Regions from separate parts of the Homo sapiens genome. Here regions 2, 3, 4, 5, 6 and 7 are each linked to region 1. The links are contacts of gene promoters, found by promoter capture Hi-C in blood cells and fetal thymus (Javierre and others, 2016). All regions are on one chromosome and are shown on one strand. The core of a region is centred on a gene start or on the middle of the fragment in contact, and the rest is flanking DNA. Distances in the headings are between cores, read along the strand shown. Region 1 holds the start of PENK-AS1 (PENK antisense RNA 1). Region 2 has its middle 47 kb from the start of BPNT2. Region 3 has its middle 87 kb from the start of BPNT2. Region 4 has its middle 110 kb from the start of BPNT2. Region 5 has its middle 160 kb from the start of BPNT2. Region 6 has its middle 210 kb from the start of LINC00968. Region 7 has its middle 190 kb from the start of LINC00968.

Region 1 (4,060 bases), core at 812-3,311:
CACAGATGGAAAGGTGGACGGACGGATGACGGATGGTTAGAAGATGTTTTGAGGGCTTGCTATAGTGCCAGGCACAAGGCTAAGAGATTTCGTCCACTATTTCATTTGATTCTCTCCAGAACCTTATGAATGGCATATTACCTCTGTTCCTATTTTTCAAATAGGGAAACTGAGGCCTCAGGCAATGTAAGCAGCTTGCCGCTTAGCAATCTTTTGCAGAGCCAGGAAGCGGGAAAGCGTGTCTTAATGGACAGTACCAGCCTCCACAGTGTGCCCTCGGCCCCCTCCCGGTGGAGAAGAGGTTCCAAGCCCCGGCGTCCCGGGTAGGGTGTCCCTCATCCCTCCCTCCCCACCACACTCCTGGCGCGCTGACATTACACCCGCCCCGGCACCCCCCTCTCACTGATCCAACACCCCCGGACACCCTGGACAGCGCTCTCAAGGCAGTAGGTCTTCGACTTGGGAGCCCCGGGGAGCTGGTTAAACACGGATCCTCTCCCACAGTGGCTGAAAAGCGCGCAGTCCCGGAACCTGAGGGTTTACCTGCTTCTACGCTTGGCCAAGGGTCTCTAACTGGAAAGGTGAAAATTCTGTCCTGAGATTTTAAGATTCCCAGAAACTTTCAATCGTTCAGTTCCTGTAACCATTAATTGAGCGCCTAAACTGCGCACCTTGACGCTGTTAGATGCTGCAGTAAGGAACTCGGAGTCAAGTGTGGGGGACAGGTTGGTCAATAAATGACGACATTCCGGACGGCTGTGCTTGGTGCCCACGGGGACCCGCGAGGGGGCCCAGGGAGGAGGCGGGAAAGGGGCAGGTTCACCGGCCCGCTGGGTCTCCAGCACATTCCAGAAGTCTAAGCCAGTCCATCTATCCTTCCAAACGCCCCCACCTCGCTTCCCTCCCTGGAGCCCGCATCCCACGGTGCAATTTCAGTGACTTTATGCGGAGAAACTTGATCCTATCTCACTCTCCCCAAACTTCCTAACTGCCTTGGGTTTGTCACCTGGCCGTGTGGGGAGCCACCGAGCGCCCCCTGTGGCCCCCACCCGAGCTCGGCGGGGGGAGCGGCGCGCGGGTGCTGGGGGACCGACCCCTCCCGCGAAGGCGTCGGCGCGGGGCTGGCGTAGGGCCTGCGTCAGCTGCAGCCCGCCGGCGATTGGGGCGCGCGCGCCTCCTTCGGTTTGGGGCTAATTATAAAGTGGCTCCAGCAGCCGTTAAGCCCCGGGACGGCGAGGCAGGCGCTCAGAGCCCCGCAGCCTGGCCCGTGACCCCGCAGAGACGCTGAGGACCGCGACGGTGAGGCCCTACGTCCGCCAGCACACCCGGGCCCGCTTCTCCCCGACGCCCGCCCTCCTCACACTTGCCTTCTTCTCTTCCCTCTAGAGTCGTGTCTGAACCCGGCTTTTCCAATTGGCCTGCTCCATCCGAACAGCGTCAACGTGAGTGAATTTGCCCGAAGCTTGTCTTTGCTGAGCGGGTTTGGGGACGTCTGCCCGCCCTCTTTCCCTTCACATTTCATTGCATGGGTTCCCCAACAGCGTTCCCTGGTTCTTCTTTGTGACCCCAGTCAATGTCCTGCCTCCCCCGGCTCCCGCTCTCTCGCCCCTGGTCTGCGGCGTTCTCTCCGGAATCTTGCCCTGGGCCGCGGACGCCCAGGAAAAGAGCCGGGTGCCCCAGGCAGCCTCGCGTTGGGGGCGACCGCGCCATCCCGGGAACCGCGAGGCGATCTGAGTCGCCTCCACGTCTACCTAAAAGCTGTCGGCCGGGAGGGCGGGGCCCCAGAAAGGAGCATTCCTGCGGGCTTTTGCTCGACGATCCCCTGCTGAGGCTGTCGCGGCGAGGGTCCTGCCGAGGGACCCCGTTCTGCGCCCAGGCAGGCTCGAAGCACGCGTCCCTCTCTCCTCGCAGTCCATGGCGCGGTTCCTGACACTTTGCACTTGGCTGCTGTTGCTCGGCCCCGGGCTCCTGGCGACCGTGCGGGCCGAATGCAGCCAGGATTGCGCGACGTGCAGCTACCGCCTAGTGCGCCCGGCCGACATCAACTTCCTGGTGAGTGTTGCGCGCGGCGAGTGTTGCGCACCTTGTGAGACAGAGTTTCCGCAACAGTACGCGGACTGCCTCCGGCCCACCGCGCGGCGCGTATGGCGGTTCGCACCGGGTCGGAGCCGCAGCGGCGCGAGCCCGTGGTGACCTGGGTGTCTCAGCTGTTCCTGGAACACTGACTGAAGTCCTGCCCTGGCTCTTAGCTTCGGGGATCCGCGACTATCTGGGGACCGGTAAGGGTAGCGGTGTCGCCGCACAAACCAAGTTTGTTTTAACCCTGGGAATTCGGGAACCCCGAGAAGTCCTCTGTTCAGCACCTCGGATAGCACTGGGTTCTCTCCTGGGCTGTCAGAAGGAAGATGGCTGTCACCACAACTCCTAACATATCCCAGCTAAGGGCCCCTCCACACGCAGTCATCTTCCCATCTTTCCCACAAATAATGTAATTTTTTGTTAGTGACATTTCGGTGCCTTTCTTTAGATTTATGTTCCCCAGCTCTCTTAACCTCAGGTCCCTCATTCCCTACCCTCACCTGTAAATAGGAGAGAGCAAAGGGATGGAAAAGGGGTACGGGGAGAGGAAGGCGAAATAACCGTAGACAGGAAAGAGTTCAAACTGTCTCACTAGCCAGTGATGCTGGAATTCAACTTCTGTTTCAACTGCCCTTTGTAATAGTAACTAAAACAACAGTTTAATTTGGCTATGAGAAAGGAACAAGAGAAGTGGCCAGTGTCCAATGGGTGACAACAGTCCAAAGATACACTGCACTACAGGGGGTTGGGGAAAGAAAAAGCTGAGGACAAAATAACTTTCATTCTGATCATGGTTCCCCATGGGCTGTCGAATCACCTCTGGTGCTCTACTGAGTCTGAATCTCCAACCTCGAGACTCAGGTAGCTTCACTTTTACCAGCTCCCCTGACAATTCCTTTGCATTGCTTTTGAAATTTGTTGAAATTTTATGGTGACTTAAAAAGCTCATAGAGAATAATGTATTCATCCAAGCTGCTTTGGGTTCCACCTGGAATTGAGGAAATTTTACCTTATGTAGATGTTTGAAATGGGGAGAAAACCAAGGAACAGTTTCCAAATATCTGTGGTATATATTTCAGGTTAAATGTTTGTTTCTTTGACCTGTGCTAACTTGGCATTAAAGAGAAGACACATAGGAAGGTTGTATATTTAAACTATGAGAAAAATGTTTCATCTTCAATAGGAGAAACAATCCCCTTCACCCATCTTTCTTCTTTCTCCTGTAGTCATGAGCTTTTAACCTATGCCTAAAAATTGAGCCAGTGCTACAAATATAAGGATAGATCTTGTGGATAAAGAATTTTAGACACAGAAGGAGGAAGAAAAATCCAAAACATGCCACATAGAAGACTCCACTTTCTGACCCCATAATTCCCTGTGCCCAGTCACACATATTTTGAGCTTTGCCTGCTCAACATGTCAGGGGCTCAGCCCCCTCCCCTAGCTTTCTCTGCCATCTGAATAAAGGTTATATGGATTCTAGTCTAATTTTTCTAATCACACAGACTGACCCCAAAGTAGTATCATATTTACTTAAATTATGTGAGTTAGCGAATTAATATGACTGACTTTTAATCATGCCTATTCAAATGGGTTTTTTTCATACTTAATCTATTTGATTCACCAAGCTCCCAAAATGCTACTAATCTTCCTTTTGCATTGTTGAGGAACTTGAGCAGAGCTCACTGGGTAGCAGCTAGCTCTTCCCTGGGTATCACCTCAAATCTTGACTTCTCTCCCTCTCTCACCCTCTTCTCATCATGTAACAGGATTGTGGGGGAGGAGAAGAGGAAGGCTGCTCTTTCCAGAATTTTCCATACTGCTTTTTATGCTCTTGTTGTTATCACTTATTACTATTATCATTACTTTAATCCAGGTGATGGAATGGCACGTGTAGTGTTAGCAACTTGAAAAAAATAGATAATAAGCAACCATCAATAAAAATAGTCTTATAGAAAGGCATTTTGCATAATAACTGATT
Region 2 (4,060 bases), core at 893-3,392, 500 kb before region 1:
ACACAGAAGACTTCTGTAACAAAATGTGTGGGTTTTTTTTCCCCAGACACCAAGTAGTGGACACAGACTGGGTGTCCTCTAATTCAGTTCTGACAGTATTTGCTCAGAGACAGTGTCAGATCTCACAGATTGAGGGCTCAGTCCCTAACTGCTCCTCCCCACACACCAGTCTTAATTCTGAGCCTCCAGAACTTCTGACTGATGAGCTTCAAGTTGGGGTCCCCATGTTACTGGTGGTGTAGCCATACAGGTCTGCTGCAACCTCAGTTCTTGCCTCCTCAGGAGAAAGAATTTGACCAAGGGGCATAAGGCAGAGAGTGAGAGACTGAGGCAAATTTTAGAGCAGGAGTGAAAGTTTATTAAAAAGCTTTAGAGCAGGAACAAAAGGCAGTAAAGAACACTTGGAAAAGGACCAAGTGGGTGACTTGAGAGATCAAGTGCATTGTTTGACCTTTGACTTGGGGTCTTATATGTTGGCAGGCTTTCAGGGTGTTGCATCCCTTTCCCACAATTCTTCCCGGGTGTGAGCTTTCCACATGCACAATGGCCTGCAGCACCTGGGAGGGGCTGCAGGCGCAGTGTGTTTACTGGAGTTGTATGCCTGCTCACTTGAGGTGTTTCTCCTTACCAGTCTAGCATTCCTAGAGGAAAGTCATAGAGCAGTGAAACTCCATCATTTTGCTTCTTGGTGCACATGCTTGAGCCCACTTGCCCAACTCCTGAGATTTTATCAGGAAGCTGATCACCAGTTTCAGGTGTTTCTGTCTATTGGGAGACTGTCTTTCCCTGGCACTGGCTGCAACTTATTTTATTATTTATTTTATTTCTTATTTTAGAGAGACAGCTTAACAATTGCCTGGCCCTCACCAGATGGGTGCCTGACACCCCTGGTGTGTGTGTTGCAGGGAGAGGGAGCCCTCTCCTGCCCTGCTGATGCCTGTCTAGCTACCCAGTAACAACCCCTCTTTGGGTTTGATTAACTTGTTGAAGCAGCTCACAGAACTCAGGGAAACACTTATTTATGTTTACTGGTCTATTATAAAGGATATTGCAAAGGATACAGATGAAGAGATCCAGAGGGCAAGGTATGGGGGAAGGAATGCAAAGCTTCCGTGTCCTCCCCAGGGCACCACCCTCCAGGAACTTCCACGTGTTCAGCTATGGAAGCTCACTAAACCCTGTCCTCTTGGGTTTTTATGGAAGCTTCATGATGTCAGCATTCCTTTCCCAAGAGTATAGGATGGGGCTGGGCATGGTGGCTCATGCCTATAATCCCAGCACTTTGGGAGGCTGAGATGGCCAGATCACCTGAGGTCAAGAGTTCAGGACCAGCCTGGCTAACATGGCAAAACCCTGTCTCTACTAAAAAATACAAAAATTAGCTGGGCATGATGGCAATACCTGTAATCCCAGCTACTCGGGGGGCTGAGGCAGGGAGAATCACTTGAACCCAGGAGCCAGAGGTTGCAGTGAGCCGAGATTGTGCCACCGCACTCCAGCCTGGGTGACAGAGTGAGTCTTCCATGGGAGAATCTCAGGAGTCACAATCAGAAAGGCGGGGAATGTTAGAGTGAAAGAAGGCAGAAGAGGGTCAGAGGGCTGCCTCTGAGGCCTAACACACCCAACTTGATAACAAAAGACTGCAACAAGGGCTATGGGAGCTATGAGCTAGGAACTGTGGGTGAAAACCAATATATATCATAACCCCACAGACCCCAAAATATGTGGGGATTTCTCCCGCATCAGCAAGCAAGCAGTCAGTTCTACAGGACACCAGCTAGTGTCCTCCAATCTAATCCCAACACTATCTGCCAGGAGATAGCAGCAGATCTCACAGGTTGAGGGCTCAATCTCCAAGACTTCCTCACTCCCCATAGATACCAATTTTAGGTCTCTGGAATTTTGACTAACCAGCTTCAAATTGGGGTTCCCTTGCCCCTAGGGCTCTTTGGGTTCAGGAGCAGCTCATAGAACTCGGGAAACACTTACACATTTATTATAAAGGATACAAATGAAGACATGCATGGGGCGAGGTATGCAGGAAGGGGCACAGAGTTTTCATGCCCTCCCTGGGCAGGGCACCCTTCAGGAAATTATTCTACAAGTTCAGCTATTTGGAAGCTATCCAAACCAGTCCTCTTGGGTTTTATGGAAACTTCATGATGCAGGCATGATTGATTAAACTATTGGCCACTGGTAATCAACTTGACCTTCAGCACCACCCCCTCTCACCCTCCCTGGTGGTTGGGGGTGGGGCTGAAAGTCCCAACCCTTGAATCAAGCTCTTTCTTTTCCAGTGACCAGCCCCACACTGAAGCTATCTATCAACAATAGCATACAGAAAGTGCTTGGAGATTCCAAGGATTTTAAGGTTGTAAGACAGGAAATGGGGATAAAGACTAAATATATATTTCACAGTATCTCACATAGTGACTTCTGGATAGCAAGAAAAACAGCACATGTCAATCACTCACTGTACCAGCCAAGGGTGCCACATCTTTTTCCTCCTATAAGGGAAGATGCTTGCTGTCCCGCCCCCTCTGATGTGGGTCAGCTGTGTCCCTACCCAAAACCTCATCTGAATTGTAGTCCCCTTAATCTCCATAATTCCCACATGTCAAGGGTGAGACCAAGTGTGGAGGGGGAAAATTCCCCCATGCTGTTCTTGTGATAATAAGTGGGTTTCATGAGATCTGATGGTTTTATAAGCATCTGGTATTTCCCCTGCTTGCGCTCACTCCGTCCTGCCTCCCTGTGAAGAAGAAGCCAACTTCTCCTTTGCTTCGGCCAAGATTGTAAGTTTCCTGAGGCCTCCCCAGCCATGCTGAACTGTGAGTCAATTAAACCTCTTTCCTTTATAAATTACTAAGTCTCGGGTGTTTCTTCATAGCAGTATGAGAACAAACTAATACACCTCCTGAGCACTTGAAATTTTCCAAAATATTCACGTGATGTGTGCACCATAGAGATATTGATAAGTAGCATTAATTTGAAGCTATACAGTTTGGGACTTTATGAAAACAACAATGACTTGTCAAGAGTATCCTTCCACCCAATGAAACAAGAACTTCACAAGCTTTAGGTAGTGTAAGTTAACCAGGTACAGCAACCATAAATGCTATTTGGTGGGTTTCTAATTATAATTTACTATTCTGTCTCTCAAGGAGCTATTAAAAAAGCAACAAGCCTTTGTGGCAGTTGCAGCAGCCCAGAGAGATGTTTATTCTCAGATGAGGGAATGTAGGGTAGTGGTGAACACAGGCACAGTAGTCGGATGGGATAGCTTCTTATCTAGTTGAGTGACCTTGGACAAATGATTTATCCCCTGTGTGACTCAGTTTTCTTATCTGAAAAATTAGGATAATTTGTTTTCCCCTAAGGTCTAATCACAAGACATCACATTGAGGTAGGAGAGCAGCAGGATTGTTTTCAGGGCCCTGCTGTAGGATGAAGCAGAGAAACCAGCTAAAAACAGCTAGGACTAGGAATTATAATACATTTACATGCTATAAGACACTCCTATCAGTGCCGTGACAATTCACAAATGCCATGGCAATGCCCAGAATTTACCTTATATGGTTCAGGGAACTCTCTGCCCTCTTTCCAGAAAGTTCATGAATAACTCACCCCTTATTTAGCATATAGTTAGGAGTAGGTATAAATATAGCTAGCCAGCAATTCACGAGTGCTACTCTGCCTATGTAGTAGCCCTGCTCTGTCTATGGAGCAGCCATTTTGCTGTACACTGTTGCCCTAATAAACCTGCTTTCTTTCACTATCAAGAAAACTCCTGAGCTGAGCTCCAATTTAGGGGTTTACTTGCATCAATGTCACCTATAAAGGTTAGCTATTCTTACTATTTTTGAGTTTTCTCATTCCACAGAGCTTCATCTGTGGGCTCTACATGGTCCATGTCTCACAGGGGCCAGAATTGCTGCACATATTTCCCTGAATTTGTGCCTCATATTTAACTGCAGAATATTCACAGCTTCTCAGACTGTAAATAGTCAAATTCCAGACCTTACATTCAGAGCTTGCATTGACTGTTTAAAGAAGGTTG
Region 3 (4,060 bases), core at 1,004-3,503, 460 kb before region 1:
TTCCCAAAACAGTATAGTATTTTGAGTCACCATAGCTTTTGTCACAGTAGCAATATGCCCTTTCAGAGCCAAGATCTGTTATTTATTCTAGTTAATAAGAAACTCATGACATCTGAATGTATTCTAAAATAATGGCAGGTGTCTGTTTGACCTGTCAGCCTGGCGGCAGTGGAGAGTAGTAGAAGAAGAAATACATAAGCTCTGGAAGCAGTCAGACCTAACTCCAACACTTTCTTTTACTTATCAGCTATGTTGGCTGGAGTAAGCCATTTTACCTTTATTAGTCTTAATTTTCTAATATATATAGTTAACTTAATATCTGTATGGAAAGATTGATGTAAGGATTAAAAATAAGATGTATAAAATACTTAATGTTGTTCTAGGCTAGTTGATGCTTCTCAATAATAATGACCTATTAGTAGTTGATCAAGAGCTTTTAAAATTAAAATACGAAGCTGGGGAGAAAATATCCAACAAAACTCTACATCATGTACCATGAGAAGCAAAACAGAGAGAGAACTTGTGAAAGAAATATTAGCTCATTTTCAGGAGAGATGAAGATATTTGAAATTCACTTAAGGTCTCAAGTGTTTGCATATATATGCACAGTGCATTAGTGGGAGTCAATTAAACTTGTAATTTTAAAATAAGTATCAGTTCAGTTTAACGGATTCACATTAAGCATGTTTCAGGACTGTTCTTGACTCTGAAAATACAACAATGAATATATCATGGCTGCTGACCTAAAGTAGTTCATAATCCAGAAGTTGAATATCTCCAATTATTGGTGGTATGAAATTCATGACTGAAATAACACACCAAAAGATAGATTTCTTTCAAAGGAAACAGCTCTAATAGAATATAGTAACCTTGTTTTTGAAAAAATGTATAAAGTTTATACAAAGCCATGATCTTAAGGTAGATAGCACCCAGGTGCTGAAGAAAGGGAGCAGAAACAAGTGATCATATTGTGATTATGTAAAACAGACTTTCCGACCACGTAGAAGTTATAGAGGAAGGATCTTATTCCAGAATATAAAGTGGCCCAGAGGCAAGAAGTAACAGTGAGGAAGCTTTTCAACTCTTAGGACATTCTGTGGAAAGTAGAACTCTGGCATTCTTTATTGAAAATTTCATCTTTTAGTGTGAAGGGGAAGCAACAAGGAATGTTGCTATTCTGTTTTTAATTCTAACGAACGAGAAAGAGCTTACTGTTAGAGTAAAGGTTATACTAAACTTGTGAGAAATCAAGTCATGTTGGAATCCGTAACAGTGAAGAAAGGAAACAGTAGGCATGGTCAGACATGCACTCTAGACTTTAGGATAACAGATTGTTCAAGAGTTCATAAAAAGGCTGGCATGATTTCATGGCTAGAGACTCTGGAAGGAAACACAAGAGCAAAGAGAGTTAGGAAAATATTATTTGAAGAATCCTAGAAATAAAAGTATGGATATTAAACAGTTGAAAGCGAGAAGGATGAAAACAGTGACAGAGATGTAGAGGTAGGCAGTCTAGGGTAGACAGAGGAGGGATACGACAGACAGACCAACACACACACACACATAGACGGAGAGAGAGAAAAGATACTGTCAGGGAGACTTAGACAGACAGAGTTGGCAGGAGGGAGAGGGATATGCTAGAGGAGCAGGCAATGAGTTCAGGCCAGCACAAGGCTCGTGGAGGGTGGTTCCAGCTTCCTGCGGTGTGGACCTCTCCCTTAGGCAGAAAGCCAGGAGCCTAGAGCAGGTGATAACTGTAGCCTTCCAGGCTCACATTATGCCCAGGGGACTGCTTCCCTCAGGAAGACTTCACTGCCCTGGAGAGCATTATGTAGTGACCATGACCCCTAAGTGCTAACAGCTGGGGTTTCTCCAACAGCACAAACAACAGCCCATCCCAGATGCGTTCCAGGCACAGATTCAACAGAACATATTATCTGAGAGGAATGGAAAGTTCTAAAGGTGGATCTCTACAACCACAAGTGATTCCAGCTGAAAAGAAAAGACATGGACAACCAAGGAAATTCACATTTAGCTGCACAGGAAGCTCTCAGATGACCTTAGATTTAAAATATACATACAAAAGTAGGAAGAAAAATCATATAACCAAAAGAGAAGGGAAAAATGAATAAAAATATGATACAAACTATACTTAAAAGACAGACTACAGAAGGGAATCCAGAATGAGTTGAAACTTTTGAAAAATGCTAAGGACAAGATATTAGAAATGTAACATTGGTTATATTGATTTAGGTAACCCAACTAAATTCTGGAACACTCATTCATTCACGTATTCATTTGGTTGATAAATTTATTCCGTATCCTATGATAGGCAAGGTAGAATTGAGGTATTTAAAGAATGACATTGTTTCAGTTCTATGAGCTTGAATTCTAATTCAGAGACTGTCAAGAGACACCTACCCAAATTAGTACAACACACAGCAGTGGGAGGTGTTGAGAATGTGTAGATGCAGTCAAGTGCTCTGAAGCGCAGTCAATAAAATAGGGCAATGCGTGATCAGGAAAGACTGCCAGATGGACTTCAACATCTGTAGAGTTATAACAGGAGGACAAGAGGGACTCGGAGGAGATTATTAAACCAATCTGTGGTTGTATTCATTAAGGGTAGGCTAGGGCTGGGCTTGGTGGCTCAAGCCTGTAATTCTAGCAGTTTGGGAGGCCAAGGCAGGAGGGTTGCTTGAGCTCAGGAGTTCAAAACCAACCTGGGCAACATGGCGAAACCCCATCTCTACAGAAAATACAAAAAATTAGCTGTGCATGATGGTGTGCTCTCAGCTACCTAGGAGGCTGAGGTGGGAGGAGGTCGAGGCTGCAGTGAGCCATGATTGCACCACTGCACTCCAGCCTGGGCTTAAAAAAAGAAAGAAAAGGCAGGCTAGGCTGCAGTAACCAACATGCCCAAACATGTCACAGGGTCATGACCATTTTGGAAAGAACATGACCACTAGGAGACAGCATACATGCCAAATTAACTATAGATATGCAACACGATGTAGACAAATTATTTTTTAAGATTGAAAGGTAGTTATGAATACTATCTAATATATATTGAACACTTAGTAGGTCCCAAGTTGTTACCAGTGATATGACTATCTTTTACATGAGAAACTTGAGGATTGGATCAGGTGAGCACCACCCAATGTCCTGTAGCTGGGACATTGTCCTGAACCTGATGTGTTTGACTCCAGAGTTTAAACTCTGTTTTGTTATGCATTATGTCACCTATGTGGTTAAGGCGGATGATAACAAAGTCAGGTTGGAATATTAGTAATTGAACAGCCTTTTGATGTTATCTGAAATGGAATATCAAATGGCATTGTTGTTGGCCTTACCTCATTGAGTAAATAAGTTACCAACTTTAATAAAAACATAGGTAACATAATATGAAATTTACAATTTACAAAAAGCTTGGATAGACACTTAATGTAGCCATATATTATGTAATTTTTATAATAATATTGTGTAGTCAGTGTTATTGTGTATTTTTTTTAACAGATAAAGGAACTGAGACTTAGAGATTGTGAGGAATATGACCAAAGTCACTTGTCTACTGAACAGAGGATCCTAAATTAGATCTAAATCCTGACTCCAGTGATTGCTGCTCTATATACTGGAGAGACCATGTCTGGAGTACTCTGTTCAGTTATGGCCTCTATATTTTAAGATAGTCATTAGTAAATGATTGTGCATAAACAGGGAACAAGAAGAGTTTATAAAATTGTAAATTTAGAATTCTATCACCGTCCCTCAAGTGCCCTGCTTGACACTCCGCCCCTAAGTGGCAGTACTGTTTGGCCCTAGCTCTGGATTATTCTATAATGTTTTGAAGCAACTGCACAGTCAGAATATAGAATTTGACTTTCTTTAGTTACTCTGCTTTCCACACTTGGTCATGCCATCCACAATGGCACACACACACATGCTGAGCTCTGAAATGCAGTGAGAGGCCAGGCCTAGTAATGCTTTCTCTGCACATTTCTCTGTTACATTCAGAGCCAAGCCCTTGGTTGCCATGAATAATGGGGAACTTCTTATCTTC
Region 4 (4,060 bases), core at 397-2,896, 440 kb before region 1:
GAATATTAAACATCTACACATTCCAAAGAAAGGGCTCTCACAGCATCAGTCAGCAAACTCATATTCATTAACATTGTTTAGATATTCAGTCTTGACTGAAGAAAAGTTCTCTGCCTCAAACTGCAGTCTTCTGTGCTACGAGTTAGCTGATTTCATCTTGTGAAGTCCCCATAGTGATGAAAGTTAAACTGACAGAGGAAGAAAATGGCAAAAAACTGCCAGGGACTGTGGGATCCAATTTCTCATAGTAAATTCAGGGCAGAACACATGACTGGCTCCTTCCCTGAAGCCTGCCTGAAGAAGCGGAGTCTCGGGTAGAGAGGGTGATGGGCGTGCCTGGAGAAGAAAAGGGAGAGCTGAGGGAAGGTGAACTGGGCCCCTGAGAGAGGGATGTATTCTCTATCAGCAGAAGCAGGGAATAAGACACAGAGCTGGCGGGGCTGGGGAATTTGGTGAGAGTGACAGAGAGACAGAGACAGACAGAGAACCCTTGGGGCGAGGGAGGAAGAGCCAGGGCCACCTTGCCCATTGTGCTCAGTGCCTCAGGCCCCTGGTACGTTTAGGGGCTCATGGGACACTTTAATTTTCATTTCTTTTAAAATTGGGATAAATAAATGAATATAATAATATATAATAATAAATACAGATGGATTATATTAGCCCTTATACCAACACAATTGTAAAATATAATTATTAATATTTTTTATGGAGAAAGAGGTCCATGAAGGGAAACACGCCCAGGGCCCATTAAAGTCATCATCAAGCCCTGGAGAGAGCCACAGAGATGTGAAAGCTGCCTCGAGGAAAGGCATTTTAGAGAAAGAGATATTTAAAGAGGATGTTTAATATAACTGCCAACAATGGTCTAATCTGAACCTAATTATGGGGGAGAAGCTGTACAAATACAGACAAAGGGACATTCACAAAACAGCAGGCCTGAAGTCTTCAAAAACATCAGCAATACGATCTACCTAACAGTTTGAGGAATTGTTCATCAGTCATGTGAATACATAACAGGTCGAGAAGATTGGATAAACACGACAACTAAATGTAATACAAGCTCTTTGATTGGAAAGAGAGAGAAAAGTGGGAAAAAAGGAAGAACCTGAATATGAACTGTAATGGTATTGAAGCAATGTTAATTTCCTGAGAGAGACATTGTACAGTGTAATATGGGAGGGCATTCTTATTCTTAGGAGATGTGTGCTGAAATATTGTGATATCTGGAACTAATTGTCAAATGGTTCACTGAATACCCATGCATAAACACACACACACACACACACCACATACACACACACACACATATATGTGCAGAAAGAGATTAGTGAATCTAGATGAAGGGTATATGACTTTTCATCATGCTTTCCCTATAACTTTCCTATAGGATTGAATTTTTCAAAATTATAGATTGAGGAAAATAAAATGAGAAAGTTTGAACTAGAAAAAAAAAGAATTGTAGAGAGTTGTGTGGAGTAGTGTGAGAAATAACACAGTAAAGACAGCTGTACTGACAAGCTAGTTTAGACTTCCGTGCTTTTGGAGTTGAATTCACGGAGTTTGTTTTTGGGACATCCATTTGCCTTAGGGCAATAGGAGGATACCTTAAAATTGCCCTTGTTCATTCGGGTTTTACTCACCTTGAGCTTTATTTTAAATCAAGGTGGAGATTTAATGGGACACCTGGCCCAGCTGTTACTTTTTAGAACTTTGTTATTTTTTGAGGTTGATGTCTTTGCTGCTTGAAGAATTTCTTCAGTGGGACCCACTTCAGAGGGAGACACTCAAGATGATAAATACGTCATGTGATGCAAAAGGAAGGAAGTGCTTTCTGATAAGAAAGGAAACAATGCTAGCTGATGCTCCCTCCCTGAGACCCAAAGTTGGAAAACTGTATTGGGTTTACCTGGAAGACTATGGGGTAACAGACACCAAGTGGTACAAAAGGCAATGGGAAACAATGCTGAGCATCTATTCGTAGACAAAGATCCAGGTGTGAGTCACCATCAGGGACTACGTGGAACGTCATGGCCAAGGGACTCACTTTTGCAAGACTGACCAGGACAGTCCTTTCACGTATACCACGTGGCAACAAGAGGCAGGAAAGAATCAGAAGCCTGTACTTAGAGGCGGAACTGCAACTGTCCCTCTTCAACCCAAACTAGCAGAGTGTAGACTCCCAGGGCCTTTCCCTCCTTTTCCCCCTTTGGCAACTGGATGTGGTGTTAGTGTAGGAGAGGTCTTAAAAAGAATTCTGTGTTTTCTACTAACAGTTCAGAGGATTTAAATGATAATCTGAGGATGTAAGAGGTGATGGTATATTTGTATCCTGAGCTGGTAAAGTCGTTTATAGGAGTTATATGTCATATGAATATTTGAAGTGACATCATTCACCATGACTTATGGAAATACCCATCCTTTCCTCAACATCTGCATTTGCTTTCTCTCTGGCCTCCGCAGCATCTATCTTTCTCATAGTCCTGATCCCCTTTCTCCGTCTCTGTTGGTGGAGTTCACATGCTCCTCAATCAATCCTCAGTACTACTTCCAGACTGTGATCAGGATATGTAGACATAACAGAGAGACTGGAACTGAGAATCAAACTGGTATAAGCCAAGGATAAGTATTTTTATCAAGGGAAGGAACTGGCATTGTTTCCTGGAGCAAAGCAGTTCAGCCTCAACTTAAGTCACTTGCACCAGCTCTGTTTAGTTTGGAGCATCTATGATAGGCTATACACAATGCTATCTTATGGGGGTGCAATGACAATCATATGAGACTCTGCCTTTCTATTCAACATGCTCCCCATTTATGGGATAAAGATAGTCATTATAATAATCGGGTTTCAAATCAGAGGCAGTGGGACTGTCAGCAGGAATAAAACACCTACTAGAGAGCTTCTTGCCTCATTTTTCAGCTTTCTTTGAATAACTAGAATTTTTGCAAAGTTCTTTCTCATAATGTGCTAAATTCTGCCTCCCTGAAATGTGCAAAGAACTCCTCAGGAGCAATGCAGAAGTCTCTTTGCCTTTTCATGTAACTGACTTCTAATACTTGCAGGTCACTGTCATCTATGTTGTAATGACCTGTTCACCCACTATGATTTCAGATCTTTATTTCCTACACCTTGTTTCATTTTCCTTTCTATCAGCCTGGTCCTAGATTCTAAGACACACTAATAGAGGAAATTTAGGCAGTCTTAGCATAAGAAACTGTCAATTCAGCAATAGCTCATATGATAATCTCGTGGTAGGTAAACACTTTAATGAGGGGGTGATTGGGCCCCCAGGTAAACACCTGCGCAAGTTATGAACAAGAAGGAGTTCAGGCCTTAGGCCAAAGTCCCATGGCATACTTGAAACCATCCAAAAAATATTCTCAGGTCGATAGTTACGTTATCTTTGAATAAACCCAAGTGTCAAAGCTTTCTCTATAATAAAATTAATATGCACTATGACTATTACCATATATGTATTAATCATCCACACAGCACTTAAAATTTACTGTAACATGTCATAAACAAAAACGTGCAACTAACATATAGGTACTGTGAAAAATAATAATAAGCAGGCACTCATATATCTATCTCAAGCCTAAGAAATAGGTCAGTGCCAGTATATTTGATGCTCTCTGGGTACTACTGTTCCATGATTTCGTTTCCCACCTTCCCCCAAAGATAACACCTGAATTTGGTCTGAATTTGGTGTTATTATTAACTTTCCTTTATTTTAAATTTTTACCACATATGTATGTATGTATTCAGAAATACTATTGTTAAATTTTTCTTTTTCAGAATTTATATAAATGGAATCACAATACCCCATGTGTTCTTATGTGACTTACTTTTCTCCCCATTAATATAATATTTTTAGATCCCTCCACATGGGTTTCATTCATTTTCATATACTATTTTTATATCAATTTAACTTTTTACTTGTATCTAGTTCTTTGCTATTATGACTAACTTGTATCTAGTTCTTTGCTATTATGACTAACACTATGAACATTCTCGTACATGTGCTCTGTTGGACAAGAGTTTCTCTAGGGAGCATAACTAGGA
Region 5 (4,060 bases), core at 656-3,155, 390 kb before region 1:
TTAAACAACAAACTGAAAATCTGGCCACTACGGTAAGGCAAGTAAAACAAATCAAAGTCATACAGATTGGAGAGGAAGAAATGAAACGGTTCCTATTTGCCAATGCCATGATTATCTATGCAGAAAATTCCAAGAAATCTATCCCCTTCCCAAAAATAGACACTTCTAGAACTAATAAGTGAGTTTAACAAGTTTGCAGGATACAAGATCAACACAAAAAAATCAATCACATTTCTGCATACAACAATGAACGTGTGGAAACTGAAATGAAAACACAATACCATTTACAATCACAGCAAATAACGTGAAATATTTAGTTATAAATCTGATAAAACATGTACAGGATTTGTGTGCTGAAAACCGCAAAATGCTGGTGAAAGAAATCAAAGAATATCTAAGCAAATGAGGAGACATACTGTGTTATGGATAGGAAGACTCCGCATAGTAAAGATGTCAATTCTCCCAAAATTGACCCAGAGATTTAGTGTAATTCCTTTCAAAATTCCAGAAGATGATATTTTCTAGACATAGATAAGTTTAACCTAAAATTTATATGGACAGGCAGAGGTCTTAGAATAGCTAAAACAGTCTTGATAAAGAAGAGGGAAGTAGGAGGAATCTGATATTAAGGTTTAATAAAATAGGTACCTACAGCAATCAAGATGTAAGTGGAGGAATAGACACAAAGATTAATGGAACAGAATAGAGAAAAATATATACTCACACAAGTATGGTAAACTGATTTTGACAAAGATGCAAAAGGAGTTCAGCGGAGGAAGGAAAATGTAATATTTTCAATAAATAATGCTGAAGAAATTGGATTTCCATAGGCAAAAAAAAAAAAAAAAATAACCTCAACTCAAACCTCACATCTTATGTAAAATTTAACTCAAAATTGATCATGGACTTAAATGTAAAATGTAAAAATAGAAAACTTTTAGAAAGGCTGGACATAGTGGCTCACGCCTGTAATCCTAGCACTTTGGGAGTCTGAGGCAGGTGGATTGCCTGAGGTCAGGAGTTCAAGACCAGCCTGGCCAAAGTGGTGAAACCCAGTCTCTCCTAAAAATACAAAAATTAGCTGGACATGTTGGCGCGCGCCTGTAATCCCAGCTACTCTGGAGGCTGAGGGAAGAGAATCACTTGAACCCGGGCAGACAGAGGTGGTAGTGAGCCGAGATGCCGCCATTGCACTCCAGCCTGGGCAACAAGAGCGAAACTCCATCTCAAACAAACAAACAAACAAACAAACAAAAAAACGAAAACTTTTAGAAAAAGAAACACAGGAGAAAATCTCTAGAATGTAGTCTAGAGCTAGAGCTAGGCCAATAGTTCTTAGACATAACATCAAAAGCATGATCCATAAAAGGAAATTTTGATAAACTGGAATTCATAAAAATAAAAACTTTTTTCTTTACAACAGGCCTATTAAAATGATGAAAAGACAACCTATAGTCTGGAAGAATGTATTTGCAAACCACATACCAGATGAAGGACTAGTATCTAGAAGCTACAATTCTCAAGACACAACAGTGAAAAAAAATCAAGCAATCCGGTTAGAAAATTGGAAAAAGATTTGAAGAGAGATTTCAACAAAGAGGATATATGGTTGGCAAATAAGCACATGAAATTATATTTAGCATCATTAGCCATTAGGGAAATGCAAACTAAGATTAGGATGAGAGAGTACCACATACCGGTCAGAATGGACAAAATAAGCAACAGTGACAACACCAAATGCTGGAAAAGATGCAAAGAAACGAAATCATTTATATATTTTGGTGGGAATGTAAAATACTACAGCTAATCTGGAAAATAGTTTCAAGTTTCTTACAAAACTAAACAAGAAACTACTAGGAGACTCAGCAATTGCACTCTTAAGCATTTTCCCCAGAGAAATGAAAACCTGAACATGAATGTCCATAGCAGCTTTATTTGTAATAGCCAAAAACTAGAAAGTATCCAGTGGATGAAGGTTAAATAGCCTTGGGTACATCCACACTACGGAATGAGCTGTTGATGCACACAGCTTGGATGAATCTCTAGGGAGTAATACTGAATGAGTAAATCCAATCCTAAAAGGTCACACACTCTACGATTCCATTTATACAATACTCATATAAAATGACAAATTTTAGAGGTGGAACAAAGTTTAGTGGTTGCCGAGGGTTAGGAAAGGGGAGACAAGGAAGGTAGATGTGGCTATAACAGGACACTAAGAGAGATCCTTGCATGATGGAACTGTTTTTTAGTGTGTCAATTTCAATTTTCTCATTCTGATATTGTAATATAATTTTGCAAGATGTTGCTATTGGGGGTAACTGAGTAAAGGACACAGGGGATCTCTCTGTATTATGACTTACAACTATGTGTGAATCTGTAATTATCTCAAAATGCAGTTTCATTTTAAAATGAATTATTGTAAAATTCACAGCCCTGTATTCTCTGTCTCTTCTTCTGGGGTTATGATTAAATGTATGCACCTCTTACATACATGTCTTACCCTCTTCTGTGTCATATCTTTTCATTTCTCCTTTTCACACTTTGAAGAGTTTGTTCACACTTATCTCCCAGCTCACTTACTCTCTTTTGAGGTGTGTCTAGTCTGCTCTTAAACCTGCCAATTGAACTTTTACATATTTTGTTTGCTTGCTGTTGTGGTAAGAGGGTAAGTCCAGTTCCTGTTACTACATCTTGGGCAGAAGCTGAAGTTTGCCCATTGAGATTTTTTCTAACAGTTCCACTTAGTTCTTTTACTAATCTTTTATGTTCCTCTTTATCACTTTCTTTTCTCTGCACATATCTTGAAACTTGCTTTTTATTTCCTTGTACATAATCAGCATAGTTAATTTACAGTCTGAGTCTGATCATTCCAATTCCTCAATATTTTAAGGATCTTTTCTGTTACTTCTGCTGGTTCTCACTCATGGAATTTCCTCTTGTGCTTTATTATTATTATTATCCTGTAAGAAATGATTAAAATAAAATATATAGAAATAATTTCAGGTTTAAAATGAAGATATTTTTCTCCAGAGAAGATTTACGTTTGCTTTTTTCCCAGAGCTTGGTTTCTCTATAAACCAGGTTGAAGGCTTGAGACAGTTGATTTGATCTTGGCTGTGTTTCCTATGATTTGCTCCACCTCCGGTTCACCTTCACCCTGGGAAATAATATTGTAGAATCCTAGCTTACTGTTCGGAGAGTCTTCTGTACCCTCTGCCAACCCTCCATCCTGTTCTCCCATAGACTGTCAAAGCAAACATTCTACTAATTCCTACACTCACCCCCGCATCTGAAATGTCCTCAAGGCTAAAGCATCTGTGCACCCTTATCCTTCTGTGTTTGATTTTTTTCCACTTTATTTTGGCCTGGTAATTCTTCTTTTGCCATATAGTCAATGCTTCTACAAAAAATTTTAAAATTTTACTCTTGTTTTTCAATTGACTTCCAGGGCAGGGTTGATTTAAATTGTCTGATATTCCATTAACCGATATAGACAGTCACAGATCTACTTTTTTGAAATAGGAAAGAATGAATTATTTTTTAAAATCAAGGCTCAAAAAGTTTTGATGGTATCATTTCTAATTTGATCAACAACTGGAATGATTATTCCAATTAGTTTAAATTCTGCAAACATCCATAAATATTATAAATTCAAGTCTAATTGGAAATTATGCAGACCATTTACATGTACTACAAGATGACACATTACTCATTAAAAATCTCTTTTAAATTACACCAATGATATGTGAGGGATGCTTACCTATTTTTGTAAACAAATTAGTAAATTTTTTAAAAAAGAAATTGAGTCAAAGTTACAAAACTGAAAGGACATTTTAAAATTTACTTTGATAATTTTAAATACACTGGTTGTGTCATTTAGCACACCTATGAATACTGATGATATAAACACTTGAGAAACAGGTCTCAGGTTCATTTAAAGAAGTTTGTGGGGGGAAGGAGGAAGGCATCTTACTTATTTTTAGCTTCTTGATTTTCTATTTAGTCACAATAAGGTATAACAGCTGAGCATTGTTCTGTGTTCCTAGAGGGTTTTTTT
Region 6 (4,060 bases), core at 1,124-3,623, 320 kb before region 1:
TGCTTAGAGGGAAATGTATAGCACTGAATGCAAATAATAAAAAAAAGATTTAAAATTAATAATTTAAGCTTCTATCTTAGGAAACTAGAAAATGAAGGGCAAATGAAATCCAAAGTAAGCAGAAGAAAATAAATAATAAAAATTATAACAGAAATCAATGAAATTAAAAAGAGTAAATCAATAGAGAAAATCAATAGAACCAAAGGTTCATTATTTGACAAGATCAATAAAATTGATAAATCTTTAGCCAGGGTAATTAAGTAAAAAAAAAGAGAAAAATGAATTACTAATACCAAAAATAAGAAAAGGAACATTACCACAGATACCATGAACGTTAAAAGGATAGCAAAATGTATAGGATGAACAACTCTATACCTAAAAATTTCATATCCTAGATGAAAATGAACCAATTCCTTCAAAGGCACAATCTGCCAAAACTCACACAGGAATAAACAGACATACTGAATAGTCTTATATCAATTTTAAAAATTGAATAAATAATTAATAACCTTCTAAAACTAAAGTACCAGCCGAGCTGGGTTTACCGATGAATTCTACAAAATATTTGAGGGAGAGATTATACCAGTTCTCTACAATCTCTTCCAGAAGATAGAAACAGAAGGACTACTTCCTAACTCATTCTATGAAACCAGCATTACCCTAATATTAAAATCAGGCAATGATATTGTAATAAAAGACTAATATCTCTCATAAAACACTCAACAAAATATCAGCAAATCAAATCCAACAACTTATAAGAAGAATAACACATTAAAAGCAAGTGGGATTCATTTCAGGTAGGCAGGTCGGTTTCAACATTCAAAAATCAATTAATATAACCCATTACATTAAAAGACTAATGAAAAAAGTCAAACAATCATATCAATAGATGCAGAAAATGCATTTCATGAAATCTGACACCTATGTATGCTAAAATTCTCAGTAAAGCAGGAATAGAGGGAACTTTTTCAACTTGATTAATAATATCTATAAATCAGCTAACATTACTTACTGGTGAGAAAATAGTAGCTTTCCTGTTAAGATCAGGAACAAAGGCAAGGATGTCCCCTCTTACCCTTGCTTTTCAGCATTATACTGGAAGCCTTAGCTAATGCAATAAAAAGGAAAAGGAAATAAAAGATTACAGATTGGGAAGAAAGAAAGAAAACTTTGTTCATAGATAACATGATGGTCTATTCAGAAAATCCCAAGGGATTAGGAAAAAACCCTCCCGGAACTAATAATAAATTATAGCAATGTTGCAAGATACCAGATTAATATACAATTGTCAGTGACTTTCCTTAAATCAGCAATGAACTAGTGAACTTTGAAATTAAAATTACAGCACAATTTTCATTAGCTCCCCTCAAAAATGAAATACTTAGGTATAACTCTAACAAAATATGTACAAGATCTGTATATGGAAAACTAAAAACTCTGATTAAAGCAATCAAAGCAGAATGGAATAAATGAAGAGGTATTCCATATAATCAATAGGAAGACTCAATGTTGACAAGATGGCAGATCTTCCCAACTTCATCTAGATACAACAAAATTCCAATCAAAATTTTAGCAAGTCATTTTGTATATATCAACAAACTGATTCTGAAGTTTATATAGAGAGGCAAAAGATAGAAAATAGCCAGTATAATATTGAAGGAGAAGAACAAAGTTGGAGGACGGACATTATTTGTCTTCAAGACTTGCATAAAGCTACCATAATTAGAGAGTGTGGTACTGGCAGAAGAAAAGATATATAAACCTATGGAACAGAATAAAGAGCCCAGAAATAGACCCCTATTAATATAGTCAACTGCTCTTAGACAACAGAGCAACGGCAATACAATGGAGAAAAGGAGAAAGGGTATCCTTGTCAATAAATAGCGCTGAAACAACCTGATTTCCAAATGTAAAAGAAAGAAAGAAAGAAAGAATCTAGACATAGACCTTACACTCATCACAAGCTCGAAATGGATCATAGCCCTAAATTTAGAACACAACACAAAACTATAAATCTCTTAAAAGATAACACAAAAAAAGCCTAGATGATCTTTGGCATGATGATGACTTACTAGATACAACACCAGGGCATGATCCATGAAAGAAAAAAATTGATAAACTGGTCTGTATTAAAGTTAAAAACTGTTGCTCTGTGAAAGACACTGTCTAGAGAATGGAAAGATAATTTACAGAAAAGGAGAAAATATTTGCAAAATTTGCAAAATTTACATTTCACAAATATTTACATAATTATATAAAATATTTACAAATTACATAAAAAGGCACTGTTATCTAAAATGTACAAAGAACACTTAAAGCTCAGTAATAAGAAAACAAAATCCTTATTAAAAACTCGGCACAATACTTGAACAGAGACATCACCAAAGAATATTTACAGATGGACAATAAACATATGCAAGGATGTTCTACATCGTATGTCATTAAGGAAATGCAAATTAAAGCAATAATGAAATATTACTACATCCCCATGAGAGTGGCCAACATCTAGAACACTGACAACACCAAATAGTGGTGAAGATGTGGAGCAAATTCTAGCATCCAAGACTGGGAAAAAAGAAGTCTTCTGTTATGGGCTGCCATAACAAAATGCCACAAACAGGATAGCTTTAAATGACAGAATGACAATTAAAATGACAATTTTGTATTTGTGGGAATACAAAATGATACAGCAGCTTTGAAAGACAGTTTGGCAGTTTCTGACAAAGTTAAACATACTCTTAATATGTTATCCACAAATTGATTGCCTTGGTATTTACCCACATGAATTGAATACTTATATCCACACAAAAACCTGCACATGAATGTTTACAGCAGCTTTATTCATAATTTCCAAAACTTGGGAGCCATCTACATCCAGACAATAGAATAGTATTTGGTGATAAAACAAAATGAGCTAATAGCCACTAAAAGACATGGAGGGAACTTAAATGCATAATTATTAAGAGAAAGAAGCCAATCTGAAAAGGCCACATACCATTTGATTTCAACTACATGACATTGTGGAAAAGTCAAAACTAAAATGATAGTAAAAGGATCAGAGGTTGTCAAGGGTTGAGGGGAGGGAGGGTTAAATAGGCAGAGCACAGAGGATTTTTAGGGCAGCGAAAATATTATGTATAATTCTACAATGGTGAAAGCATGTCATTATACGTTTGTCCAAACCAATAGAATGTACAGCACCAAAGGCGTTGTAAACTGTGGATTCTAGGTGATCATGATGTGTTAATGTAGGTTCATGGGATGTAACAACTGCATCACTCTAGAGGGGATTTTGATAGCAGGCAGGACTGTGTATATTTGGGGGCAGAAAATGTATGGAAAAATCTCTGTGCTTTCTGCTCAAGTTTTCTGGAAACATAATGCTCCTGTAAAAAATAAAGTCTATTGGCCAGGTGCCACTGCACTCCAGCCTGGGCGACAGTGAGACTCCGTCTCAAAAAAAAATAACAATAATAAATAAATAAATAAATAAATAAATAAAGTCTATTAAAAAATAAAAGGGCTGAAGTCTATTCCTGCTGTAATAAAAATATGGATGTTTTTCATAACAGATGCTAGTGAGGCTGCAGAGAAAAGGAAATGCTTATACACTGTTGGTGGGAATGTAAATTAGTTCAGCCACTATAGAAAGCAGATTGAAGATTTCTCAAATAATTTAAAACAGAGCTACAATTTGACCCCTCAGTCCCATTACTGGGTATACACCTGTATTAGCCCGTTCTCATGCTGATATAAAGAACTGCCCAAGACTGCGTATATTATAAAGGAAAGAGATTTAATTGGCTCATAGTTCCCCAGGGCTGGGGAGGCCTCAGGAAACTTATATTATGGTGGAAGAGGAGGCAAACACATCCTTCTTCACATAGCAGCAGGAAGAAGAATGAGAGCCCAGCAAAGTGGGAAGCTCCTTATAAAACCATCAGATCTCGTGAGAACTTACTATTACAATAATAACATGGAGGAACCGCTCCCATGATTCAATTACCTCCCACCAGGTCCCTCCAACTACACGTGGAGATTATGGGAACTACAATTCAAG
Region 7 (4,060 bases), core at 1,114-3,613, 300 kb before region 1:
GCGAATTGGAAAGCTCCATCCAGCTTGAATAAGGCTCTGCACATCACCTGGGTGTCAGGTAGCTCCTGATGGACAGAGATCTCTTTAATCTGATCAGCTTTAAGCAGGCGTAGGCAGGGATGAGAATTACTCACTGTGCACCAAACGTCTTTCAGTTCACCCTCCATTGCTAGTAAACTCTATATAAACATCAAGTTCACTTCTTGTGTTCTCTCCTGTTTCTCTCCATAGATTTCCAACCAGTTAAATAAAACCACAGGGTAGAGAAAAATAGGATCATGCACAGCCATTGTGGCAGATCTAATTTTTGGCCACACCCCAGCTGTGAGACTTTAAGGTTATTAAAACTCTCTGGCATTCAGTACCTGCTGTGGGCTGAAGTGGCCCCTCAAAATTTCATATATTGAAGTTCCAACCCTCAGTGTCTCAGAATGTAATTGGATTTGGAGATAAGGTCTTTAAAGAGGCAATTGAATTAAAATGAACTTGTTTGAGTGGGTCCTAATCCAGTATGACTGTTGTCCTCATGAGAGGAGGAAGTTTGGACACAGATAAGTACGGAGGGAGGCGGTACAAAGACACCTGAAAGAGGCCTAGAGCAGACTCTCCCTCACAACCCTCAGAAGAAACCAACCTGCGGGCACCTTGCCCTTGGACTTCCAGCCTCTAGAACTGTGAGCCAATAAACGTCTGTTGTTTAAGCCACGCTGTGTGTGGTACTTCATTATGGCAGCCCTAGCACACTAACAAAATGCCCTTATCTATAAAATAAAAAAGGTAATGGCACATACCTGGTCCCATTATTGTGACCTAGACATTGCTGTACAGATTAAATAACATACATAAAGATCTTATCTTTGTGACAAGCATATGATAATCACTCATTATTTTAACTATTATTAGCCCTATTTTACCTGGCCAATAAAATCAATTCAATTAGAAATATGAGACCTTAAAATGGTCATTTGATGATTGAGGTTAAAAATCTATGTCTAACATGAGTAAAATGTATCTTCTTCACCCAGAAAAACATGACACTTTCTAAGCACGGAGAGGGGAAGGAAAGGTAGGAATCCCTTCTCTGCTCTGTAAATGTCTGTATTCCCTGAGGACAAAAAGCTTCCGTAAGAACAGGCAATCAGCTATTCTGTAACATAAAGTCATAGAACTTAATACAATGGGATGCATGTACAGTTATGTGCCACATAACACGTTTCAGTCCACAAAGAACCACACTTACATGATGATGGTTCCATAAGAATATAATGACATATTTTTACTGTACTTTTTTATGCTTAGATACACAAATACTCACCATTGTGTTATAATTGCCTACAATATTCAGTAGAGTAACATGCTGTACAGGTGTGTAGCCTAGGAGCAATAAGCTGTACTGTATAGCTCAGGTGTGTGGTAGGTGTACCATCTGGGTTTGTGGAAGTGCACTCTGTGATGTTTGCACAATGATGAAATCTCCTGATGATAAATTTTTCAGAAAGTATCCCAGTTGTTAATGACACATGACTGTACACAGAACTAAAACTAAAATGTTAATTTAAGAAATATACCTTGTGAAGACAGAGTAATCTAGTGGGATGAGGGAAAGAGAGCCAGATATGCATTCCTCTCTTCATACTTTGTTCAACATTGATCATGGGAAGAATGGGAAGAGCCCCTAGATACTTCCCTCAACTTCCAGGTGACAAAACCAAACACACATCACAAATTTTGCCTAAGATGATAAAGTTAGTGGTAAAATTCCATTCTTTGATTAAGCTTTCTTTCAGGAGCTCATTTCCACAGCATTGCCTATGTGTGCAAGTTTGAGAACATGACTGAAGAGGTCAGAGACTGGAGCCTCAGTTGAAAGGCAAGATTGGAAGCCTCCAAAAAATTCTGTGACAGAACTACAACCCAAATCTGTACCACTGGAGATGTGTTGTAACCATCAGGTGTAGTTCCAAGGCCACATGCTGTGGCTGTGGCTCCTACCTTGATCTTGCACACGTGACTCAAGTTCACTAATCTGTTTCCACCTTTGTTCCACACTTACACAATCACATCTACCAGATAGGGGTGTTGTAAGAATTAAATGGTGTAATCTATTAACTGTTATAACAATGTTAGCAAAATTGAAAGAAAAAGAAGGCATCATGTCTTTCCTGTAGAAAACAAGTATAGCAGCTTTACAGACACACTAAATGAAGTAATTCTGATCTCCAGAGTTAGAGCCACTGTTCTTATGTCCTATATTTTTAATAAAAACTTGTGAATATTCTTAACACTCTGCAGAGTGTTGATATAATATTTGTGCTCACTTTCATAATCACCGAATAACCAAGCCCTGGGAAAGAGTCTCTGTATTAAACATCCCAAACTAGACACCTACAGGGGCCGAGGGAGGCAGAAAGCATCCTCCACCTTCTGAAGAGCAGTTGGCTGCCTTTGCACTAGGACATCCCCATTAAATTAGAGCACACATGGAGAGTGCAAAGGTCAATGCATCCAAGGCAGCAGTCCCTAACCTTTTTGGCACCAGGGACTGGTTTCGTGGAAGACAACTTTTCCACAGACTGGGGGTAGGGAGAGGGGGATGCTTTGGGGATGATTCAAGCACATTACATTTATTGTGCACTTTATTTCTATTATTATTACATTGTAATATGTAATGAATTAATTATACAACTCACCATAAGGTAGAATCAATGGGACCTCTAAGCCTGTTTTCCTGCAACCAGACAGTCCTGTCTGGGGGAGATGAGACACAATGACAGATCGTCAGGCATTAGATTCTCATAAGAAGCATGCAAACTAGATCCCTCGCATGCGCAGTTTCACAGTAAGGTTCACACTCCTATGAGAATCTATTGCCACTGCTGATCTGACAGGCGGTGTAGCTCAGGCAGTAATGCGAACAGTAGGGAGTGGCTGTAAATACAGATGAAGCTTCACTGGCTTACCTGCCACTCACCTCCTGCTGTGTGACCTGGTACTGGTCCATGGCCCAGGGATTGGGGACCCCTGGCCTAAGGTACCCAATATTTTGCTCCCTAAAATTCTTATTTTCCTTTTGCTCTACCCACTTCTATTGTCTATTGGGCATTTAAAATCACTGGGTATTCATGGTAAAATTATGGAGTTCTTCACTTCAAGAACCTCAAGTGAAATGGGACTGTAGTTATAGCTATTTCATCAATTATATCTCAAATAAATCTAGCATTTAAACAAAAATGTGTTTGATTTAATCACTGCTATCATTGATTTTTCTCATAGAAATCTGTTTTGTGTATGTTGCAGGAATCAGGGCTCATAAATGAGATCTGTGTGTCCTCAGATGTTTAAATGAAAGGAACAGATAAATAGGTGTTCTTTATTTTGGAGGAATGTATTTCAGGTCTTCTAATGAAAGTTACTCTGTGCAGAAGAATGCACATATGTGCTACCCACAAAATTTTCCACACAACTCCAGGGAGTGACTAGAGCTGCTGAAAACCATCCTTGAGCCACTCAGGGCCCAGGGGCCACAGGTTAAGAGGCTTTGCTGCAAAGAGAAGTACTAAAAGGGTGTGCATGTCTGCACCATGGAGTACTGTTGGAACATGTAGACCAGTCTGTGTAAATTTAAGTGGGAAAATAATAGGAAAGAAAAATATGCAAAGTGAATAAACATGTTTTAGGAAAATTATTTTCGAATTCCTTTAATTTATAATACACCCTGAGTAAGTGGAATAATCATACTCTGCTACAAAATAGGACCTCTACCTGTCCCTGTTAGCTGTGCCCCTTCAACACTTCAATCTGAGCTAGAAATCCCCTCCCTTGGAATCAATGCATCAGATGGAACCTGTAAGAAATACAGCATATGACAACTAAATAATTGACTCGATTTACATACATGGTACAGTTTGGTTTAAAATCAACCGTTATTTATGTATTGTGAAATAAAACTTTTTTCATGTTTTATTGATATGTTTACTTTCATTTCATAGAGTTGTGTCATAGTTCTTCCATAAATCTTAAATATCCACCTGTGTGAGTTAGTATAAAATCTTATAAAGAA

What was found. The method cuts DNA at HindIII sites, captures the fragments that hold promoters and counts their contacts. A CHiCAGO score of 5 or more calls a contact.
Region 2: a fragment that was not itself captured here is called in contact with the fragment with the promoter of PENK-AS1 in region 1 in 2 of 17 cell types (naive B cells and M0 macrophages); the score reaches 6.3 in naive B cells.
Region 3: a contact is called between a fragment that was not itself captured here and the fragment with the promoter of PENK-AS1 in region 1, in 5 of 17 cell types (total B cells, M0 macrophages, M2 macrophages and 2 more). The highest score is 8.2, in total B cells.
Region 4: a contact is called between a fragment that was not itself captured here and the fragment with the promoter of PENK-AS1 in region 1, in 3 of 17 cell types (M1 macrophages, M0 macrophages and naive B cells). The highest score is 6.0, in M1 macrophages.
Region 5: a contact is called between a fragment that was not itself captured here and the fragment with the promoter of PENK-AS1 in region 1, in 2 of 17 cell types (monocytes and M2 macrophages). The highest score is 6.2, in monocytes.
Region 6: a contact is called between a fragment that was not itself captured here and the fragment with the promoter of PENK-AS1 in region 1, in 3 of 17 cell types (monocytes, M1 macrophages and M0 macrophages). The highest score is 8.2, in monocytes.
Region 7: a fragment that was not itself captured here is called in contact with the fragment with the promoter of PENK-AS1 in region 1 in 1 of 17 cell types (monocytes); the score reaches 6.7 in monocytes.

Annotation. Positions count from the first base shown.
Region 1 is chr8:56,443,808-56,447,867 of GRCh38, reverse strand. It overlaps PENK-AS1 (PENK antisense RNA 1), which reads right to left and starts at 2,061. Exons shown (of 4, transcript NR_125813.1): 1 at 1,368-2,061. PENK (proenkephalin) reads left to right here and starts at 1,227. Exons shown (of 4, transcript NM_001135690.3): 1 at 1,227-1,299; 2 at 1,387-1,442; 3 at 1,912-2,052. The coding sequence starts at 1,915. RefSeq lists an enhancer at 1,565-2,456. The HindIII fragment of the contact is 3,142 bases long and covers 1,465-4,060 here.
Region 2 is chr8:56,944,506-56,948,565 of GRCh38, reverse strand. No RefSeq gene overlaps it. Among named protein-coding and RNA genes, the nearest start is that of BPNT2, 47 kb to the left of the region's middle. The HindIII fragment of the contact is 1,873 bases long and covers 1,206-3,078 here.
Region 3 is chr8:56,905,017-56,909,076 of GRCh38, reverse strand. No RefSeq gene overlaps it. Among named protein-coding and RNA genes, the nearest start is that of BPNT2, 87 kb to the left of the region's middle. The HindIII fragment of the contact is 2,355 bases long and covers 1,076-3,430 here.
Region 4 is chr8:56,885,031-56,889,090 of GRCh38, reverse strand. No RefSeq gene overlaps it. Among named protein-coding and RNA genes, the nearest start is that of BPNT2, 110 kb to the left of the region's middle. The HindIII fragment of the contact is 3,560 bases long and covers 1-3,426 here.
Region 5 is chr8:56,835,527-56,839,586 of GRCh38, reverse strand. No RefSeq gene overlaps it. Among named protein-coding and RNA genes, the nearest start is that of BPNT2, 160 kb to the left of the region's middle. The HindIII fragment of the contact is 9,729 bases long and covers 1-4,060 here.
Region 6 is chr8:56,763,137-56,767,196 of GRCh38, reverse strand. No RefSeq gene overlaps it. Among named protein-coding and RNA genes, the nearest start is that of LINC00968, 210 kb to the right of the region's middle. The HindIII fragment of the contact is 4,605 bases long and covers 71-4,060 here.
Region 7 is chr8:56,746,909-56,750,968 of GRCh38, reverse strand. No RefSeq gene overlaps it. Among named protein-coding and RNA genes, the nearest start is that of LINC00968, 190 kb to the right of the region's middle. The HindIII fragment of the contact is 1,170 bases long and covers 1,779-2,948 here.